Linked DNA regions of Homo sapiens: region 1 is linked to region 2. The links are contacts of gene promoters, found by promoter capture Hi-C in blood cells and fetal thymus (Javierre and others, 2016). All regions are on one chromosome and are shown on one strand. The core of a region is centred on a gene start or on the middle of the fragment in contact, and the rest is flanking DNA. Distances in the headings are between cores, read along the strand shown.

The links. Contacts are between HindIII fragments. The CHiCAGO score rates a contact against its expected background, and 5 or more counts as called.
Region 1: a fragment that was not itself captured here is called in contact with the fragment with the promoter of TMEM107 in region 2 in 1 of 17 cell types (erythroblasts); the score reaches 5.5 in erythroblasts.

What each region holds. Positions count from the first base shown.
Region 1 is chr17:7,835,377-7,839,115 of GRCh38, forward strand. All of the region lies in intron 1 of KDM6B (lysine demethylase 6B), which reads left to right. LOC124904106 (translation initiation factor IF-2) reads right to left here. Exons shown (of 4, transcript XM_047437265.1): 4 at 32-1,268. The coding sequence ends at 241. Among named protein-coding and RNA genes, the nearest start is that of KDM6B, 3.0 kb to the left of the region's middle. RefSeq lists silencers at 223-642, 663-722, 2,263-2,412 and an enhancer at 1,343-1,392. The HindIII fragment of the contact is 2,138 bases long and covers 1,421-3,558 here.
Region 2 is chr17:8,174,304-8,178,574 of GRCh38, forward strand. It overlaps TMEM107 (transmembrane protein 107), which reads right to left and starts at 2,077. Exons shown (of 5, transcript NM_183065.4): 1 at 1,897-2,077; 2 at 1,656-1,723; 3 at 1,454-1,554; 4 at 217-313. The coding sequence starts at 1,983. It overlaps LOC105371520 (a long non-coding RNA gene), which reads left to right. Exons shown (of 4, transcript NR_188261.1): 2 at 473-571. RefSeq lists enhancers at 1,465-1,514, 1,565-1,624, 1,616-2,227, 1,655-1,704, 1,865-1,954 and 3 more. The HindIII fragment of the contact is 13,203 bases long and covers 1-4,271 here.

The sequences.
Region 1 (3,739 bases), core at 1,240-3,739, 340 kb before region 2:
TTCCCGGGACAGGAAGAGCCCTGGGAGGAAGGCGGGGAGGTAGCGAGCTGCGCCGCGACCGAAGGGGACTCGGTGGTTGTCCGGAGGGGGTTAGGGACCGAGGCGCAGCGTTGACCTCGGCTCCCCTTCCCTCCCCTGGGTTGCTTGTCCTGTTGCCAGAGTAACTGGAGGGCGAGACTTGGGAGCCGGATTCCCGAACTCTCCCGTCCGCCCAATCCGCTCCAGCGGTCGGCCCTGACGTCAGGGCCCTGGCAGCCAATGGGGAAGGGGGATGATAGCGACAGGAAAGGGAGAGGGGAGGGGCAGCGGCGGAGGCTGGGAGGCAGCAGCTGCCTGGGACCCGCACGTGCACTCCCACACGCTCGCGCCCACCCCCCGCCCTGCGCCGCACGCGCCCGAGCACCCCCTTGCGCCTGCGCGGCGAGCCGGGCGCCCCCCTCCCCTCGTGGAGTCTGTGTAAAGCCGCCTGAGGCTGCGCTCTTCAGCCCCTGGGGACCCACACGTCTCGGTCGGTCTGCACCGTTTCGCCGGTCGCGACCATAATGCCCAGCCTGGCTCGGGAGGGCCGACTACCTGTTCCCCACCTCCCCCCAGCTGGCGCCCCACACTCCCAGGTGGGCTGGGCGGAGCTGTGGTTTCCGGCCCCATCTGCTCGGCCGCTGCCTTCCCGGGCTCTGGCTTAAGTTGCTTTCCCAAGAGAAAGCGAGCGGGTACCAGCGCCCCTTCCCAAGGCTTCTCCCGCCCGGGCCCAGCTGCTGTTGGTGGCGGAGGAGGGCACTGCGGGGAAGCCCCGGACGGCCCAGGTGATTCTTCTGGGCCATCACGCCCCTTCTTCGCGTGAATTCCTGCTCTTTGATGTGCACCAAAACCCTTCCCATTCCTAACGTTTCCTCCTCGTTCGCCCCGGCGTTCTTTGCACCTCCCTCGGCTCCTTTCGGGCTGTCTGTCCCTGTCTCCACTCGTCCTTCTTCGCTTCTCCCGGTTATATAACTCTTCCTCTCGCCGTGTCCTGGTTTCAACTCCACAGACTCCGCCCTGGAACAGCGCGGGGAGGGGCGGGAGAGTTGGGGACCCAGACAGATTCCGGCTGGCGGCCGGCTGGGGCACGGGGGATCCTGCAGATGGAAGACGGAGCCCCGCGGGACCCGGTGCCCCCGTCCCCGCCTGCCGGCCCCCACCGAGATCTCGCCCAGGAGAGAGAAGGCACAGTATCTCCGAGGGGCGTGTCGGGCCGACTCCCGTCAGAAATGTGGGTTGGGAGGTCAGGGCTGCAGGCGGAGAGGAGGAGACAGGCAAGAGGCCTGAGTCCCTGGGATTGGAGTCGTATTAGGGGTAAAAGAGATAAGGACGCCTGGGTTTCTTCTTATGTCTCCTTTTTGGGTTCCCAGAATTCCTAAGGGTGTTTCCAGTGTTTCCAGGAAGCTTAGCCAGCACACCCACTCCGCCCCGTAGGGGTCAAAGGTCTGTGTTAGAGGTGGCCTGGGATGATGTCACTAGTGCACGTGCCCCGGGATGGTTGCCAGGCAATGAGGCTTCCTCCCCCTTCTATTCCCTCCCACCTCTGCCCCGAGTCCAGTTCCAGTCCCGTGCCATCTCTTTCCCCTCTCCCTTCCCGTGGTCTTAGCATCCTGCAGGTGGGAAACCCCGGCCTGGAGTTTTGTGAGGGGGAGGGGCACGGGTGTGGTGTGGCTGAAAGACTTTGCCCCTTTGCTGGGCTGAGGGAGCCTTGGGTCACTTTTCCCTAGATTGGCACAGAAGAGCTTCCCCTCCAAGGCTCCGCCCCCATAGAAAAAGCTACCTAGCCGTCATTTTACTTTCCCACCTGCTGCATGGCCAAGTGTCCTATTGCCCCCTTCCCCAGATTGATTTGAAGTGGGAGTGGTTGAAAGACGGAAGAGTTGTGTGTAGTATGGGGGGGGGTTCACTACACACCAGCTTATCCCTGAAATCCCCATAATGGCACACCCCCATCTGCAAACAATGAAAGGAAAAGGGTCAAGAAACAGTATTAGGCTGAAAAGTCAGGGTCTTTATTGTGTGTATGCGGGTGAATCGGTTTGTAGCCTCTCACTTGGTGGAGGGGGACTCAGTTGATTGCTATGGTTGTTCTTCTCTATTAAGTCCCAGGGTTGGTGATGGTATTGGAATGAATCGGTTTGTGCTTTTATGTACCTTAGAGCTTGGGCTGTCAGATCAGACCTGGATTCTAATTCTAGCTCTGTCACTTAGTGGCTACTAGGACTTGGAGAGGTCAGAACCTCTCTGAGCCTCGTATGTTAATCTTGAACATTTAAATATCAACACCTACCTTGAAGGCCGCTGGGAGGAAAAAAATGAGATAATTTATGCAAATCACTTAGCACAGTGCCTGGCACAGAATGAACACAGAATGAGTGCTTGTTGTTATGAAATACTTTTATTATTAAATGGTGTTAGTTACTAGTTTATTATTATTGCTGTGGGTCTGCTCCAAACCAGCGGTAACCGTAGGAGTTTGTTAAGGGGTAGTGGATAGTTTGTGTTAATTTGGAGATTGGGGTTAGGGGGCTGGGGATTAGCTTCAACTGCTTTGTGCATTTTATTTGATGAAGGCTTTAGGCAGATTTGTATTGCTTTCTTTAGGATTATTTTTTTTTCTCTTGGACAAGAAATAGCTAAGACTATTCCGTGGGCCTTGAAAATAAAATAATTGTATTATGGTTCTTGATTTTGAAGCAAGACCCCAGCCCCCTCCCGTGTTGATCTCTGGAGCCTTTCGTTTTGCAGAGGGACTCCACAGTTTCTCTAGTGGGGACAGGGCTAGGCTGAGGGGTGTGTAAAAGGTTGGGGTGGGTGGGTGGAGAGAGACTAGTGCTGGGGGCTGGGGGGGCGGGTAGTTAAAGGAAGAGACCGGAAGGGAGGAGGAGGGAGCCTGCTGGTGGGGAGGGAGGGAGGGGAGGAGGAGGTGGAGGAGGAGGAGGAGGAGGAGGGAGGGGGTTGGGGAGAGCCTGCTACAGTTCTTTGTTTGACTCCGGGACTCAGGGACGGGGAGGAGGAGGGAGGGAATAGAAGGGGGAGGAAGCCCCCCCCCCCACACACACACAAACACACACACCCCAGCTGTTGGACAGATGAATTACAGCCTCCGGCTTGGGGCCAGGGCTGGTGAGGGATTAAAGCTCTGGGGCTGGCCCTTTAAATGGCTGTTAGCCCCTCCCCCACTCTGTTGTCCAGACACCCCTCACACACCCTCTGACCCCCTAGGCTTCCCCCTCACTCCTCCTCTTGGTCTGTCCTAAAGTCTGCCCACTCTGCTCTCGACTAGCCCTTTCCTAGTCCCTCCCCCCAGCACAACCGCAGAACACAGATGCCACAGACTATAGATACACACTCTCTGCTCCCAGGTTATGAGCCTCCCTGTCCTGGAGAGTTCTAGCCTGAAGCTCCCTTCCCGAGCAGAAGGGCCTTGCCTGCCTGACCTCTACCACCTACAGCTGACCACTACCCTGGCTTAGGAAGGAGGCCTTGGTGGGTCACAAATAGCACCTCCCTGGGGGCAGTGTCATCAGCAGCCACAGAAGCTTGCGGAACATTGCATCATGGAGACTGGGGGCTAGAGGCCTGAGTCTCTGAGGCAAGGGGAAGGATGGGGGCCGGAAGGCTAGGGAATATAGAGATTAGATTGGGACCCCAAGTGTTTGGGTCCATAAGGGCAGAGAACTATGATTAAGGGAGCAGAAAACATAGGTCCCTGAGGAGC
Region 2 (4,271 bases), core at 827-3,326:
TTTCAGTATAAATACCCAAATCTCCAAACCAGAGACCCCACCTCTGAAAGTGTAGGGCAGGTGGCATGGGGGGTAGGGGATGAAACTTTAAAAGCCTACAGGATGTTGAGTGGATCTGGTATCTCACACATGGAGGAAAGGGCTGGGTAGGGGAAAAACCTTCAGGTTTAGGGCCAACCTTCCTCCCTCATCCCCAAATATTGGATGCTACCACACCTGCAGAAGACAAAAATGTACCAATACGTAGTGCACTCCCAACGCTCGAATATGAAGAAGGACAGGGCCACGGATGCACTACAGTGAGCCCCAATGGCTTGGGAAGGCACGAGATTAAGGAAAGTCTTTGGATCGACAGACAGTGATGGGTCAGAAAAGGCCAGTGGTGGGGCTGGCATCTGCATTCAGGTTCATCCCTTGCTCCCTCACCATGTTTCAAGGGCTAGAGTCAGCAGCTCTGACTTCTGAATTTTAGGACAGTCATGTGAGGAGAGACCAGAAGTGACTGCACAGATCGGACCTCAGGCTACCCTACCCCTTATCTGTGGGCCAGCCTGGATCCTTCAGATGAGAGGTAAGAGTAGGCTCTCCTTCTGCTATGCCACAAAGGAGTGCTGACAGCGACTTAATATGCGCTGGAATCAGCCTCCAGTGTCCTGGTCCTCCTGGTCCACAATTCTCTGACCCATGTGCCTCATCTCCTTTGCCTCTTCTGAGTTCCCAGTGCTCGCTTCCGTTGCCTCTTCTGAGTTCCCATTGTGCTTTATATCTTTTGTTTGTTTTTTGACAGAGTCTTGCTCTGTTGCCCTGGCTGGAGTGCAGTGGCACGATCTCAGCTCACTGCAACCTCTGCCTCCCGGGTTCAAGCAATTCTCCTTCCTCAGTCTCCTGAGTAGCTGGGATTACAGGAGTGCGCCGCCACGCCCGACTAATTTTTGTATTTTTAGTAGAGACGGGGGTTTCACCATGTTGGTCAGGCCGGTCTCGAACTCCTGACCTCAGGTGGTCCACCTGCCTCGGCCTCCCAAAGTGCTGGGATTACATGCGTGAGCCATCGCGCCCTGCCTGTGCTTTCTATCTTCACACACTTCTATAGCACAGTGCTTATCACACTGAATTACAGATTTGTATCTACCTCCTCCTCATTGTAAAAAGAAACGGTGGGGTTTTTATTATTCCTATTATTTTTGTAGACTTGGGTTCTCACTATGTTGCCTCCTGCCTGCGCCTCCCACAGTGCTGGGATTACAGACGTGAGCCAACATGCCTGGCCAAAAACTGTATTTTACTCTCATTTTGGGATTTTAAGTGCCTAGTAAACAGCAGGATTTAGCACATCGTTGAAGATCTTTGAACTGGAAGGATTGGCTACAGCAGACACTATTGTGTCAGGTGGCTGAAGGGAGTCCTGATAGAAGTGGGTCGTGTGGGAAAGGTGGGCAGGCAGAAAGGATACAGATGAGGCTCTGGGTGCTGTTGAACATGGAGACTCCTGAGAGGAAACCGGCCAGCTCCACTGCAAAGAGGCCCAGGGTGACAGAGAGCGCGGCCACCAGCCTGCAGAGAGGAAGTGGACTGGCCCAGGCCTTTGGACTTATTCTAAGACCCCTCCACTCCCACCACCTCTTCGTTCTGGCCACCCCGTCCCAAGAGCTCACTGAATGTCCTGCTTGTCATACTCCTCGGGGGTGAACGTGAGAGGCAGGCAGGCCTGTATGTTGCTGTCCTGGGAGCAGGGCACAGGAAGAGAAGTGAAAAAGGGGCAGGCTGCAGGGCAGGCCTGGGGGCGGCGGGAAACAAGAAAACCCAAGAGGGTAAGACACTGGGAGGGGGCAGGGTAGGACTAGGACCACTCAGAGATGGGAATGGGGACGGATTGAGTGCAGCCGTGGGTCTTACCCGGGACCAGAATAAGGTGATGACGACCACCAGATGCGCCAGGAGCGTCAGGAAGCGAGAGGGCACAAGCCCTGAGACCCGGCCCATGGCCCTCGGGGACAAGGGCGGCGGTCTCTGAGGCTGGAAGTTCAGAGACAGCGACTCCTGAAGTCTCCCCGCAAGCCGACAAATCTAGACGAACGCCTCCTTCCCGCCCGCTCAGGCACCGCCCAGTTGCCTTGGTAACCGTGTACGCGGGCTCGGCGCCGCGTTCTCGGAAATCCTCGCGAGCAGTACATTCTCCGGCTGCTGCGGGTCTCTCAGGGCCAGCGAAGGTCAGGGGTACCCGAAGGCGCTTCTAACCTAACGGCTGGGTACCCGCGCGCAGCCAGGCCCTTTGTTCCTCAGAGGGTGCGAGGTGGCACAGCCCCGCAGCGCCCGATCTGCCCACGCAGGGCGGATGAACGGAAACCCACCCTGGCCTAGCTTGGGGACACCAATGCTTCTGCTGTTGCCCACGCCGGGAGCGGCCCCCAGCCCCAGCTACGCTGCCCAGTTGTGGATCACTTGAGACCGCTGCCACCACCACGCCGGGCTGAGTTCCCCGCCATGCCGAAGACTCAGACCCGCTCCCCTTCCCCTCCTCTGCATGCCTTTAGCTTCCCACCAAGCTGGGCCTGAGAAACAAGGGACCCGAACCTGGAGAGGCCGGTGTTCCTGGACTGCTCTGCAGTCACAGATTGTCACGGAGCCCCTGGTTGTCTGAGGACCCCAGGCCTGAACCTTCCTTGAGGAAGACTGATTTCTTTCAGACTACTTTGCTCAGTTTGGTGAGGGATTTGCAGAGTGCAAAAAATGGCCAGCGTCCTTAAACTAGCATGGGGATAAGAGCAGAGCAAGGTGGCTGGAAAGAGTGGGAGTGGACGAAGGGAATGGGACAGTCCCTGCGTCTCTGGGAGGCTTGGAGCCGGCTGGAAGGGAAACTCAACTCAGATTTCTTTGTCCCTTGGAGGTGCTGGGCCTCCGACATTGCCCAGCTACAGTCCAAGAAGCTCTTATCATCGGCGACCTCATGACCTTTGGGCCTCAGCGCAGGTCCCTGCAGATCTGAAAGTTCTTTAATTGCTGAGTCAAGTCCCATCCTCAAGGAACCTCCCGGCCCATCTCCCAGGAGAACAATCTCTTCCTACTCCCCACTCCCCATCTCAGTGCTTTTAGCCAGCCTAAACTACAAGCCCAAGAGGCATTTCTCATTCCTTCAACAAATATTTGTATATGTTTATTGATTACCTAGTAAGGGTATTCTAGTCAGGGAGATCAACAACAGACATGCAAACAAATAAATCCGTAAGATAATAGGCGCTACAAACAGGGAAAAGCGGGCTGTGCACTGTGGCTCACACCTGTAATCCCAGCGCTTTAGGAGGCCTAGGAGGGCGGATCACCTGAGGTCAGGAGCTCGAGACCAGACTGACCAACATGCTGAAACCCTGTCTCCACTAAAAATACAAAATTAGCCGGGCGTGGTGGCGCGTGCCTGTAATCCCAGCTATTCGGGAGGCTGAGGCATGGGAATCGCTTGAACCCAGGAGGTGGAGGTTGCAGTGAGCCGAGATCGCGCCATTGCACTCCAGCCTCTGCAACAAGAGCGCAACTCCGTCTCCAAAAAAAAAAGAAACGCTAGAATTATAATTCTATAAAAATAGGGCATTTATAATTCTATTAAAATAGAGCATTTATTTTGTTTTATTTTATTTATTTACTTTTTCTGAGACGGAGTCTCGCTCTGTCTCCCAGGCTGGAGTGCAGTGGCGCAATTTCGGCTCACTGCAAGCTCGGCCTCCCGGGTTCACGCCATTCTCCCGTCTCAGCCTCCTGAGTAGCTGGGACTACAGGCGCTCGCCACCATGCCCGGCTAATTTTTTGTGTTTTTAGGAGAGACGGAGTTTCACTGTGTTAGCCAGGATGGTCTCGATCTCCTGCCCTCGTGATCCGCCAGCCTCGGCCTTGCAAAGTGCTGGGATTACAGGCATGAGCCACCGCGCCCAGCCGGACATTTAACCTTAAACTTTATTTTAGAAACTTTGGCCAAAAATTGGCCGGGAGCGGTGGCTCAGGCATGTAATCCCAGCACTTTGGGAGACCGAGGCAGGGAGATCACCTGAGGTCAGGAGTTTCAGACCGGCCTGGCCAACATGGTGAAACCTCATCTCTACTGAAAAAAAAAAAAAAAAAAAAGTTAAAAAGTTAGCCAGGTGTGGTGGCGCCCGCCTCTAATCCCAGCTATTCCAGAGGCTGAGGGAGGAGAAGTGCTTGAACCCGGGAGGCAGAGGTTGCAGTGATCCAAGATCGTGCCACTGCACTCCCGCCTGGGAAACAGACCAAGACTTCGTCTC